Regions from separate parts of the Homo sapiens genome. Here region 1 is linked to region 2. Evidence: promoter capture Hi-C in human tissues and cell types (Jung and others, 2019). All regions are on one chromosome and are shown on one strand. The core of a region is centred on a gene start or on the middle of the fragment in contact, and the rest is flanking DNA. Distances in the headings are between cores, read along the strand shown.

Region 1 (6,856 bases), core at 1,738-4,237, 120 kb after region 2:
CTTTATAGGTAGCCTGTATTATTTCTTGGGATATATTTAGACTCTTTTTTTTTGTATTTTGTGTTTTTAGTTTCTTGTTGATTTGTCTAGGTATGTATTTCTTTAGGCTTCTTGAATTTAAAAATTTGTATCTTACATTAATTTTTAAAAATTAAACTTCATCGTTATCCTTTAACATATTGTGCATCCCTTATTCAGTCTTTATTTTGCTTCTAGAAATGTAGAAAGTTCTCTATCCTCAAGTGTTTTAACTTCTCATATTTCCCTATTCCTTATGTCTCTGAGATGTAGTCTTGGTATTTCTTCAACAGATGCAGTCTTGGTATTTCTTCAACTCTACCTTCCAATTTGCTTTTTTCCTCATCTGTGGCTAATCTGCTTTTTAAATTGTCCATTTAATTATTACTTGTAATTATTCCACATTTTAACTACTAGAAGTTTTCTTTGATTCTTTGCTTGATATTCTTGCTTATTTCATAATCTCCCATTCTTTATTCATATGTTTAATCCTGTAGATCAGGGGTCCTCAATCCCTGTGCCACGAACTGGTACCGGTCCGTGGCTTGCTGGAAACTGGGCCACACAGCAGGATGTGAGCAGAGGGCGAGTGAGCAAAGCTTCATCTATATTTACAGCTGCTCTCCATCACTTGCATTACTGCCTGAGCTCCATCTCCTGTCAGATCAGAGGTGGCATTAGAGTCTCATAGGAGTGCTGTGTATGTGAGGGATCTAGGTTGCATGCTCCTTATAAAAATCTAATGGCTGATGATCTGTCACTGTCTCCCATCACCCCCAGATGAGACCGTCTGGTTGCAGGTAAACAAGGTCAGGGCTCCCACTGATTCTACATAATGGTGAGTTGTATAATTATTTCATTATATATTATAATGTAATAATAATATAAATAAAGTTCACAATAAATATAATGTGCTTGGATCATCCTAAAACCATCCCCTACCCTGGTCCATGGAAAAATTTTCTTTCATGAAACCGATTCCTGTGCCAAAAAGGTTGGGGATCACTGCTGTAGGTAGAACATCATGTAGATCTTTAATTTAAATCTATTAATCACACATATATATGTGATTCCATGTATGAAGTTCCCAGTTTTTAATATTTCTGCAGATCTTATTCTCTTGCCTATTGTTTCATGTGGTTTGCATGCAGTGGTGTCCTGTTCTAGTTTGTGTTTGGTGGTTTTTGATTATGAATATGTTCTTTAGAACTTTATCTGTAAGACTTCTTTGTAAATACATTTCTCTCGAGAGGATATGCTTTTTAATAATTTGGGAACATTTAATATGAATTATTGGCTATTAATTTTTAGGGAAACATTGATAGTGGGAACTTGAGAAACACACCTATAAGTGGGCCTATTGCTAATTTTGCATTTTTTGGAAATTCTTTTTCTTCTCCATCCACCAGAAAGATGAAGAAAAGAACATTTTCTTTATGTGAATAAAACCAACAACAATGAATAGGGATACAGATTCATACAGTCTGATTCCCAAAAAAGGGGAGTGGAACCCCACGATTTGATCACTTCCCCTTCCTTGAATGATCTCACAAATTAAGTTACAGGTCTCAATTCTCTAGAAAAAGGGACTTAGATATTATATCCTCCCAAATCCAAATTTCCTGCTCAGGAATGCTCAAACTTTTGAATTGACAAGGAATCACTTTCGTTTCATGGGACTGTTATGAATGACAGAAGAGCTTGAGAGACCTGGAAAGGCTGGAGCCACATGTATGGAAGCTTCCCAATGATTATGAAAGGCTTACTGATGGTGCAGAAGCCTGAGACCACGAGATTCAGAAAATCACATTCTTTTTGTCCTAAGGATGCTTTGGACCTGATTTAAAAAAACCTCATATGGTTTTTGTGAGAAAATACTGCAAGGGGCTCTGTGACTGATTCTTTTGCTGTCTCTCTGGATCCCAAGGCTTTGAAGAGAGGAGTCTTTACACAGAGCGGGGGGACCTGCAAAACCTTAGTTCTCATCTAGCTTTGGCAGGGTAAAGGGATTAGCCAGGTGCTGAAGGTGGCTTACTGCAAGGCTGGCACAGGCCTGATCATGTGCTCATTCTTCTCCACCACATGGTAAAGTGGAAACTACTATCACCATGTCAGATAGCAAAGGTGATCTTTATTCTTGCCAATAGTTACAATGAAGAAAATTATCTTCCATCATGAGAGTACCTCTTAATTCCATCTTGTCTATCTGGGCAAATCTAGAAAAGAGGCATGCTGAATGTCTATAGAAAAGAACTGGCTTTTTAATTTAACATATTAGTTTGAATTCAAAACATGTACAAGGTGCTGTGATGCAATGGCTTTCTAACTGTCCAAATTTCCAGAATGCACTCTGGTGGAAATATAGCCCCCAGAAGAATAAATATGTAGCCTTGTTCTCCTACTACCATTGCAAAAACAGTTGAATGGAATGCTTGTGCCTGAAGAGTTGTCTGAGATTGTATTCACCAGGCAGTTTAGAGAAGGACGCACATCAGGGAGGCAGGGGATATCCATCTTGGCCCCCATTTCAGCGTGGTGCAATGACTCCAGGACTGCAAAGAATCTCATTGTACAAGACCTACCTAAGCTTACAGGCAGTCCCAGAGATGTGAACAAGGATGAAGTGTGTGAATCAATGTCAGAAGTGAAATATGCCCATGACTTCAATAACAGCACCAGATACCAGCTCATGAATGACTGGTTAGAAGTGTTTTATGGATGAGATGCATGGTGGTGATATACCCAATCAGACATTCAGGAAGTGAGTCTGTTGTGTCATTTTGTGTGACCTTTGACAAGCCACTTAACTAGTCTGGCCTTTACTTTTCTCAAGTGGGACTTGTTCATCAACCCTTCCTGTCTCACTCTGAAGTGCTCTGATCTCTATTCTAATCCGTCAAATAGATTCGTAGACCATGCTTTGAGAACCATTGATATAGTAATCTAAAAAACTGACTGTACTTAATTTCCCAAGCCTTTGAAAGTATAAAGGAAGAAAAGCTTACTCACTGCCAGAATTTGGTTACAGAGGAATTTAATTATAGCATTTGGGCATGTGTCATTTAACCATAGCTGTTAAGAGTCGTGGTCAACTGTTTTATTAAGTCATTTATCGTCTTCAGCAACTACCAGTCTGTAATTACCTTAATTCTATTCCACCAGTTTGTGTGAAGGGAGTCCTGTTCTTTTGTCCTCTGCATCCAAACCCTAAAATAAATCATGATCATCATACTTACATTCTGTTGAGTTTAAAAAATTTTCCACTCCTGATTTTCTGTTATCTGATTTCTACTTTTCCTAGCGTTAGAATAATAGAATCATAATGTTTCAGAACTAAAGGTGATTTTAAAAATTATTTAATCTCACCTCCCTTTTACTCTATTGAAAATTGAGAACAGGAAAGATTTAAAAATTTAGAAAGGCCTACAGCTGGTTAGTGATGGAGTCATGCTTACTATCAGGTGCCCAACCCTGCAGGTTATGGAAATGCCTGCAGATTTCCATTTCAGTGAGGCCCACAATTTCAGTGAGGCCCAGGAGGCTCTAGTTCAACCAGAAGGCAGAACCCAATCTAATCTGATTTGAGAGATTTGGATATAGCCACCTGATTTATAATGCCCAGGCAGAGAAACACAGTGTACAGTAGAATGTGGGCAGCCAGCTGAAGATGGTGTGGAAAAGGGGGCATAAAGATAAAGTCAGGGGCACTTGTTAGTTACTCTAGGGATGAGCTACAGTAGAAGTAGTTTAACTGAGATTAAACATTTGGATGTTTTGCAAATGCTAAAATATTCAGGCAGGCACTTTAGAATGCATTTTGCCCAAATCTCTACTTCTGTTTTTTTAAAAAAATGTGAATGTGTACAACATCATTTCAATTTGCTTTACCCAAAAAAGCAAATGACAGAATGTTTTTACTGTGATTCATTCACTCATTAATTCAACGAATGTTTGTTGAGCCCCTACCAAGTGCCAAGCACGAGGGGCACACATCTGCCGAGATCAGATGGAAAGGGGACAAGAAAAACTGGAGAACCCAAGTCTCCAGTCAAGAGATGATGGAGGCCTGGAGCAGAGGGTGCAAGAGACACGTGACTTAGAGACAGGGGAAGAAACCTGTAGACAGGTGATACCTGGAGAACAGGGAGGAGGATTATGGGTGATTTCATTTTTTTTTAAAAATTTTCTAGTTTTTTGTGCACAGTGGTGCTTTGTTAATAAAGTAATAACAGGATTTTGGCCTGGAATGATGATGTTGCTACGATTTTTAAAATGGATTATTTTTTGTTTTGAAAGAATTTAAAATTTATAGAAGTGTTGCAAGAATAATGCAAAGGACTTTCAAATACGCTCTGCTCTGATCCACCAGTTGTTAACATTTTGCTACATTTGCACATTCTTTTTCTTTTTTTCCTCTCCTCCTACACATATAATTATATATTTTTTCTGGACCACTTGAGAGTACATCGCCCTTTACTCCTAAATACTTGAAGTGTATATTTCCTAGGAACAAGGACACTTGGCTTATGTAACTATGTACAATGATCAAAATCAGGAAGTTTTATGTTGATATATTAGTATTGTCTAATATATAGTCTTTATGAGAATTTTGCCAACTGTCTCAGTAATGTCCTGTATAGCAATTTATTTTTCTGGTCAAAGAGCCAGTCCAGGATCACATATTGCATTTAGTTTTCATGTCTTTTTCATTTCCTTTATTCTGGATCAAGTGATCCATTTTTTTTTTTTTTTTTTTTTTTGCCTTTCATGTTTGGCAATTTTGCAGAGTACAGGTCATTTATTTGTAGAATTTCTGTTAATTTGAGTTTATCTGTGATTTCCTCATCATTGGATCTAGGTTTAAATAACCTGGAGTTTTTTAGCCATAGTACTATCTAAATGCTGTTGTGTCCTTCCCAGTGCACTGTATCTAGAGGCACATGATGTGGTATGTTAATATCACTGATAAAGTTAATTACTGGTGGTACTAATTTTAAGGTAAGACTACATATTTTAAATGGTAGATTCTTTTGTTTTCTTTGGCTCAAAGTAGTGTCACTGTTAAACAGTGTTTTAAAATTATCTATTTAAATTAATATGGGCTCACATTTACCCCACAGTAAGTTACACATATCTCCAGAGAAAAGGGGTGTGCACATAATTGCTATGTCAGGCTAGGTTATTACAATACAAAAGCAGGTTAAGTATAAGTCAATCCTGACATAAGCAGGGATAACTTGTTTTCAGATTCTGGATGTGCTTATTTTCTAGGGAGTTATTTGGATGTTTTTCTCATCTGTTGACTAAATCTATGAGCCAAATGTAAGTTGTAGCATTTGGGGATATTATGTACACTTTCGACCTTCTCTTTATCAAAAAGACCAAAAATAATTGCAAACTTTGGCAAGGATGCAAAGAAGAGGGAACTCTTATCCACTGTTGGCGGGAATGCAAACTAGTACAGCCACTATGAAGAACAATATGAAGGTCCCTAAAAAAACTACAAATGGGACTACCATATGATCCAGCCATCTCACTATTGGAAACTTATCCAAAGGAAAGGAAATCAGTATATTGAAGAAACATCTGCACCTCTATGTTTATTGCAGCACTATTCACAATAGCCAAGATATGGAATCAACCTAGGTGTCCTACAACAGGTAAATGGATAAAGAAAATATGAATATATATGCCATGGAATACTATTCAGCCATACAAAGAATGAAATCCTGTCTTTTGCAGCAACAAAGATGAGCCTGGATAACATTATGTTAAGTGAAATAAGCCAAGAATGGAAAGCTGAACGCCACATCTTCTCATTTATATGTGGAAACTAGAAAATGGTTGATGTCACGGAAGTAAAAAGTAGAACAGAGGATACTAGAGGCTGGGTAGAGTAGAGAAAAGGGAGGGATAAGGAGAGAATTGTTAAAGGTTATAAAATTACAGCTAGATAGGAGGAATAAATTCTAGTGTTCTGTACCACTGTAGGATGACTGTTGTAAACAATAATGTATTAATTAGATAGTTTCAAGAGCTAGAAAGAGGATATTGAGTGTTTTTAACACAAAGAAAGGATGAATCTTTGAGGTGATGGATATGCAAAATCCCCTGATCCTCATGAGCACCATACATTATTTGTCTCAAAACATCATTAGGTACTCCAGAATATATACAATTATTATTTATCAATTTAAAATATTAAATTAAAAATTAAAAAAGAATATATTCAAAAGTAGAACAGAGGATAACTAGAGGCTGGGAGGGGTAGAAGGTAGGGAGGGATAGGGAGAGATGTGTTAAAGGTTATAAAATTACAGCTAGATAGGAGGAATAAATCCTAGTGTTCTGTACCACTGTAGGATGACTGTTGTAAACAATAATGTATACTTTAATCTATGATGGATCACTTCATAGTCATTCCTATTGGTAGCTATGAAGGAAAATGACCCATTTCTTTGGATCCGTGCTAAAATTTTATAAAATCTTTTGAGTTTTTGGAAGAAATATACTTTATTTGTATGAATCCATTTATAAGCTTCTCAGTATCTGAAAATTTTTCTTCAAAGATGTTGATAGACTAATGCTTGACTTTTCTACAAAAAAGCCATTGGATCTCTCTGGCATCTTTGCTTTTGAACTAATCATGCCAAAATATGATTTGCCTATAAGCATGTGAGCTGTTTTGTTTTAATAATATTTTAGCCGTGGCTGAGCCACTGTGGATTTGAAAGAAACAGGCCAAATACTTGCTGCAGAATGGGCCTTGCAATTCTTTCCTTTGGGTGTGAAATGGTTCTCTTTTAAAAGAATTTGCAGTAAATCAGATTTGCTAGTC
Region 2 (7,580 bases), core at 4,384-6,883:
CTTGTAAGATAATGTCAGTATGACTTCTTCACTGTAAGGATAATTATTTTGTGCTTATTTGCAATTAATATTTGTTGGTATTCTATTGTAAGGTAGAGCTTTCCTTTCTCCAACATTTATTTATATAATTATTTATATCATTATGGATTCCTATTTCCTTCATTATGACTATTCATTTCTAATTGATTTACCATCATTAATCATTTTAATGCTAAAATTATCTCAGGTCAGCCAGTAGGAGATCATTCAAGCCAGCTCCTGTGTCCTTATAACAGGTGTCTATCATTCCTGAGCATTTCTTTATTTGGAGGCACAAGATGTTCTGGTTCATTTTGTATTTTCCCTGCTCTGGAATCGCCATTTCTCCAAGAGGCCCTGGTTTCCTCCTGTTGTGAATAAAAATTCAGAAACTAAAAAGTCAGAATTCAGAACTAAAGTTTGGTGTTAATCTGCTCCAGAGTGTCATTACTTTAGGTCCTGTCAAAGGACAGAGCTAGGAAATACATGTATGTGCGTACACACACACACAGACCCACACACATTAATGTCTGTTAGTATATCTATCCCTATCTCTCCTTTCATCTACCTCTATTAAAAACTACATGTTCATACTGATACTTCTAAACTCAATCTGACATTTCCTATTTCAATTTCAGTAGGGTTTATTCTAGACTTCCTCATTTCTATACTTGTAACTTCCTTTTCTAACAGTTACAAATCCTGGCTCCCATTCTCCTTGATGTATTTTCTTACTTGTTTAATCCTTCTGTATATGACTAATGTCCCCACCATATTAGCCAAGTATCTCATCCTCCAGCCCTGCTATCACCAAACATGCAGTCTGTGGCTGTGTCAAAGGGAATATTTTATCTTTTTCAATGGTATTGTAAAAAGAATCTTTCTTTTATAAATTCTAGCTGATTTTTGTTTACATAGTTGAAGTCTGCTTATTTCTGTATGTTAATTTTATATCCTGCAAACTTACATAATTATTTTGTTTTAGTTTTTCTATTGTCTTGTGTTTCTTTTCCAAGTATACATCCTGAAAATAGAATCTGCAAACAGAATTTGTTTTTCTTCTCTCTTTACAGTTTTAGACCTCAAGTTTAATTTTCTTTTTAAATATCACTGACCAATAAAACGTTAAATCATAATAGCAGTAGTGGGCATTCTTACATTATTCATGACTTTAGTGGAATGATTTCCTGTTAATATGGTAGCTATTGGGCTGAAATGTGTGGTGTTCTATACATTTTTAAGTTTTTATTTTGAAATAACTTTAGACATAGAAGAATTGCAGACAGTACATAAAATTCTTGTATAACATATCCTTTATTCAGTTTTCCCTATGTTATATAATCATGGTATTAATACATTTAAAAAAATAAGAAATATAAGAAATTAACATTAGTTATGTATTTTTTTTTAAAAAAGTGGGTTAGGTAAATATCTATTCCTCCTTCTTTTGAGTCTCTTTTTAAAAACCCGGAATGAACATTTAATTTTGTCAAATGTATTCTCAGCATATGTTCTTACTCTTTTAACCTGCTAATATGATGAAGTAAGTCAATAGATTTTCTAATATGAAACTATTTTTGCATCTTAGAAGAAATCCACTTGATTAAAAATAACGTGCATGATTATAAAAATTAACTCTTAGATTCTGTGTGCTAATATTTACTTAGGACACTGATAATTTTTTACACTGATAGTTTTAAACAAGATTGACCTGTCGTTTCTTTTTTAAAAGCAGTCTTTATGGAGTTTTGATGTAAATGTTATTCTTTTTTTTTTGAGACGGAGTTTCGCTCTTGTTGCCCAGGCTGGAGTGCAATGGCGCCATCTCAGCTCACCGCAACCTCTGCATCCCGGGTTCAAATGATTCTCCTGCCTCAGCCTCCCAAATAGCTGGGATTACAGGCATGTGCCACCACGCCTGACTAATTTTCTATTTTTAGTAGAAATGGGGTTTCACCATGTTGGCCAGGCAGGTCTCGAACTCCGGACCTCAGGTGATCCACCCACCTTGGCCTCCCAAGGTGCTGAGATTACAGGCGTGAACCACCGCGCCCGCCCGTATTATCTTGCTTAATACTTATCTTTGCACTGTTAAGTATGCCTTTACCTCTGACTTGATGTGTATGTCAAAGAGCATACTTTGACTCTTAGCTGCTACAGAGGGAGCAGTCATGCACCTGTTCTACCTCTCACCAGGGTGGTTTTCCAACAACTCAGACTTCTTTCATCTGTTTGTTTCCTTCCAATATGGCATTTCTGTGGATTTCTTCATGCAGCCACAACCTTCTTTCTCTCCAAAGCAAACCGGGCCCAGAAGGCTTCTGTGCCTGTCCAGTATTCCCTGCCCTGTCCCCAGGGTGACCCCCTCCTGTCCAGCAGCTGAATTTTGCTGCCAATTTCTGAGCTCTGCATGGCTGGATCCTCCGTAACACCTGCTCTTCCTTCTTTTTCTACCAACTCCTCTAACCTCAGCACTGTTTGATCTCATTCCTGTTCTCTGATTTCTTCCCCAACATTTGCACTTCCTAGTGGGCTCCTGTTCTCCAGGGCCCCTAATTTTGCAGGTCTCTCTGGGATCTGTCACTGCTGGGTCCCTTGGTCCCCACCCCCTTGCCCTGACGCCAGCCACCCCTTATCCTTTCTGCTCTCTTTCCTTAAGGCTCCATTCAATCTTTAGTTATCACATTTTAGAGTTTGTTTTCTCTACCCCAGATTCACTGATTATGGAGCCTACAGTGTTTATTCCCCCTTCTTCATCTTGTCATTCTATGTGGTCTCCAGGTGAAGGGAAGATACTATTGTAATTTAAACTTACCAACATGAACTCCTATTGCCACAATAGTCAGAGAAGGGGGCTGGGCACAGTGGCTCAAGCCTGTAATCCTAGGACTTTGTGAGGCTGATGTGGGGGGATCACTTGAGGTCAGGAGTTCAAGACCAGCCTGGCCAACATGGTGAAACCTCGTCTTTACTAAAAATACAAAAATTAGCCAGGTGTGGTGGCACGTGCCTGTAATCCCAGCTACTGGGGAGGTGGAGGTTGCAGTGAGCCAAAATTGTGCCACTACACTCCAGCCTGGGTGATGGAATGAGACCCCATCTCAAATAATAATAATAATCAGAGAAGGGAATTCTTTATCGGTATAGGTGGTTTGTTCCCCCAACTACCTGGACAGAGTTAGCAGCACTCTGTCAGTGTTTTACATGGCCACAGACAGCTCCCTTTTGCTTTTCTGAAGAACAGTTTCAAACCATGTTCTCACTCTGTAGACTCCCCTACCCTCAACCACTCTTAACAGAAAAAAAATAGAAGTTCACAGATGTGTGCTTCCCCAGTCCCCTTTTTCCTAGGGTAAATGTGTCTATAATACCAGTGTGCCCCCACCCTTGGCTCCCATCCTGGGAAGAGATGCCCTTTCTCTCCAAGATGACAATCTCTTCCCCTAGGTACTATGCTTCATCCCTTCTACAAGTATCTAAACTTTATCAATTATCTTTGCCTCTGGTGGCTCATTTTACAAATAAAATTATTTCTTTCAACCTAAAACTAAATGATACCAGATAAAAAATCTGAAAACATTTCTGTGTCTCTGACCCCCTTTTAAGCTTCCTGCCTCTCCCTCCTTAACAGTGCATGCACAGCCTCTGCTTCAGGGCCTTGCCATTCCCTCTGCCAGCCATTGCATCAGCCTTGCTTTCCACCATGCACAGAAACTGCTATTGCTAAAAGAAAGTCAAAGCTGTCCCAATGACAAAATCCAATCACCTTCTCCTTTAAATCCTATGTACCAACATCCATTGTTTTGATGTCTAGAGTGGGCAATCTAGTTCTATTTGTCTGTTCTCTTCCATCCAAATGTTAAATTTCATGATTCCTGACATCATATAATCTTTACCTTCTACTCCTACATTTTCCTCTCACATCATATAATCTTTATCTTCTACTTCTGAGTCCCAATACCAGGTAAAAATGACCCAGTTTAGAAGTGTTTTAGCAAAATGTTTCTACTCATTGCAATGCACAAGTTAAAGATATTACAATAAGTCATTTATGATATAATTCCTTTGAATGTAAATGTACCTCAGTGTATGACTTTTATGAGTGAAGGTCATTACAAACAAGAAGTTTTACTGGGGGGAGTAGTAGGAAAGCATTACTTATTTTTTTAAAAGTTTTTACTGATTTGGTGTGGGAGCAACTACACCATTAATAGTTGGAATTTATGTGGTAGGTATGGGATATATATGGATTTATAGAAAATTTTGACATTTCTGCAGTGGAGTTCTATTTTGGACAAACTTTTATCAATAACAAATTTAAATAAATGAAATACTAGCAATGGAAAGCAAAGCACATGACTATATGAATAAGATTAGTTACTAACAGTACTGAGACAACAGGTACTAGACTTGTAGCTTTGCTAATGTGTCCTAGAAAAAGCACTGGAGACTAAAGGAGTTTTTAGTAACTTTATTTTCTAAAACTCCATCCTACAAATATGTTTTCTTCGACATCTCCACTTCCTTTAAAAACAAATAGAATCAGACAAAAACTTATCTTGACCAGGTTTTCAGTCAGCCGAGTTCAGCTTTCAAAGAGGTGAGATCCACCAAAAGCAGCCGCGCGCTCGGCCTCTGCGCCGCGCTGGGTCTCCAGCAGCGCTGGATGACGTCCCCAAGGCGCTGCCCGGGGAGCGAGTCCTCGAAGACGGCAGCGGAGAGGGACGGGCGCAGGTCGTAGGCCACCACCGCGTACAGTATGTGCTGCCGCTCCCCCGAATACGGCGCCTGCTTGGTAGTCATTTGCCAGAGAGTGATGGCAAAGGAATAAATGTCGGCTTTAGGCGTCACGCCCTCTCCTTTCAGGAGCTCCGGGGCGCGGTGGGTGTATGTGCCTCCTAGAGGGTAAGAGGGTGTCTGGAAGCACAGCAGATCTTCCAACTTCTCAGAGCAACCGAAGTCACTAATTTTACAGACATCCTGCTCACTGATCAAGATGTTCGCGGGCTTCAGGTCCAAGTGCACAATGCTTTGCGAGTGGAGGAAGAGCAGGCCGTTCACAACATCTAGTGAGTACTTGAGACACTTTCCCAAACTTAACTGTCCTCCAGTGCGGCAGTGAGGCTCCCCTGCGTCCCCCTCAGGGTGGCCGGCGGCGCCATAGATGACTTGGTGTAAAGTGACGTTGCCACCGAACTCCATGATGATGGTCCCTAGGCTATTGGACCCTGCGGGCGTGCGCGTGCTGGCAGCCACCACGCGCACGATGTTATCGTGGCGCAGCCTTGCTACGTTGAGCTCAGCCCAGAAACTCCGCCGAGATGCTAGTCGGTTCTTGGTGCACTTGTTCACTTGCTTTATGGCCACAGGAACACCGCGGTAAGTCGCCTTGTACACCGAGCCAAACCCTCCAGCTCCCAGCCTCTGCAGCAAGCACACCTGCTCCCAGTCAATGGAGCACCAGGCCAGCCGGCGCGGCAGCCGCGGGGCCCGAGGAAGAGTGGCCCCCAGAAGCAGCTTCGCAGGTAGCTCTGAGGGACTGCTGCAGGGCCGCGCGTCCACCGATGGGGAAAACTCGCTCCGGAGGTAGGGGCGTAGGGCCAGGGGCGAGGGCATCGCACTTTGCAGGGGGACACCAGGGCCGCTGGAGTGAATGAAGAGACTAGGGGAAACCGCGGGACTTTGGAAACATGACTGACTACTCCTTCGCTCCACCTCATCCCTTTTCTCCTTTTCCTTCACTTGTTCCAAATGAGCTACATCTGTGCTGTCACTCAGCAAGAGTTTTTATCAGATGGAGGGAGAAACCGGAATGAAGCACAGCTATCCCTTTCAGATGAAAGCATTTCCCTTCCACACTTGAAGTGAATTCTTATAAAAACAAGCTCATGCCAGACAAACAGCATGGAGCTGCCTCAGAACTCACCCCTCTTTTACATTATTTCTTAAATTATAATAAAATACGTTTTTTTCAAGTCTCATCCGCTGCACATTATCAGTCCTCAGACTAAAGAGACCACAAAGCACAATGAAATTGTTTCACACTTTGCAGGCTGTAATGATTGTTAGTGTCATTCTCCAGCTGCATTAAATCACTTCCAGCAGGTATTGGCTAAGAGTTAAAATGCAAACAGCAGACATTTGTTTAACCAATTACAGGGAAAAACTAGGTGCAACATTCATATGGATAAAAAATTGCAACCTTAATCAATCCAAATAGAATCACTGATACAGGTCATAACACACACCTAAATTCATCAGTGGAAAGGAGAATCCCCTGACACTCTATGCAGCTTACACAGCAAATTAGCAAGACATCTTAGCAACATACTGACTTCCTAACAATCCTTCCCTTCCAAGGCGATTTGGCCCAACCGGTCAGCTCACTTGCAAGAGAGATTCTAGACTTCGTAGCAAATGAGTTACCGAAGTTTTGAACCAGAGTTGGGGGAGACAAAAGAATAGAAATGATTCAGAGCTGTGATCAGGGCTTCAAATAATAACACATATGGGAGAATTGTAGAAGAGGAAAAATCTGAAGAAATAAAAATGGCACAAAATCACTGGTACCTACATATAATGTAGAAAACCAGAAGTTGGAATGAAATTCAGGGTATTGGCCATCAGACAATAAGATCTTTCTTTCTGATTTTTATAATGAAAATTAATTTTCTACCAAGTGCAGTGAGTTATGCCTATAATACCAGTGCTTTGGGAGGCTAAGGTGGAAGGGCCACTTGAGGCCAAGAATTTGAGACCTGCCTCTACAAAAAATAATAATAAAGTTAGCTGAGTGTGGTGGTGCACTCCTATAGTCCTAGCTACTTTGGAGGCTGGGGCGGGAGGAGACTTGAACTGAGGAGTTTGAGGCTATAGTGAGCTATGATCGTGCCACTGCACACCAGGCTGGATGATGGAGCAAGATCCTGACTCTAAGCAAAAAATTAATTTCATACCATATCTTTGGAAAAAGGACCAATAATATTACCATATTCATGAGAAAACACACACACACAAAAGTGTTAGGATCTATATTTTAAAAAATCAAATGGTAAAGTTCCCTTCTTCTAAAGCACTTATGTGTTAGGTTATGTGTAACCACATTTTAATGATAGCAGTTCTGTTTTTGAAGTATATTGACTTTGAGAAGGTAAATTAATAAACATGAACCATTTACAGAAACAATTTGAGGTCTGTGAAGCCCTGGAATAGGATTTCTATTCTATACAACCTGTGTGGCTTAGTATGTGATCTAGTGTGTGTATAATATTTAACCTGCTTGAGCCTCAATCTTTTTTTTTTTTTTGAGACAGAGTTTCGCTCTTGTTGCCCAGGCTGGAGTGCAATGGCACGATCTCCGCTCACTGCAACCTCCGCCACCTGGGTTCAAGCGATTCTCCCGCCTCAGCCTCCCGAGTAGCTGGGATTACAGGCGCATGCCACCATGCCCAGCTAACTTTTGTATTTTTAGTAGAGATGGGGTTTCACCATGTTGGCCAGGCTGGTCTCAAACTCCTGACCCCAGGTGATCCACCTGCCTCAGCCTCCCAAAGTGCTAGGAT

The links. The method cuts DNA at HindIII sites, captures the fragments that hold promoters and counts their contacts. A contact is called where the count stands out against the background at its distance.
Region 1: a fragment that was not itself captured here is called in contact with the fragment with the promoter of MOS in region 2 in 2 of the 25 tissues and cell types used here (heart left ventricle and hippocampus).

Annotation. Positions count from the first base shown.
Region 1 is chr8:56,235,023-56,241,878 of GRCh38, forward strand. No RefSeq gene overlaps it. Among named protein-coding and RNA genes, the nearest start is that of CHCHD7, 27 kb to the left of the region's middle. The HindIII fragment of the contact is 3,600 bases long and covers 1,188-4,787 here.
Region 2 is chr8:56,108,349-56,115,928 of GRCh38, forward strand. It overlaps MOS (MOS proto-oncogene, serine/threonine kinase), which reads right to left and starts at 5,634. Exons shown (of 1, transcript NM_005372.1): 1 at 4,594-5,634. The coding sequence starts at 5,634. The coding sequence ends at 4,594. RefSeq lists an enhancer at 5,013-5,513. The HindIII fragment of the contact is 8,406 bases long and covers 1,267-7,580 here.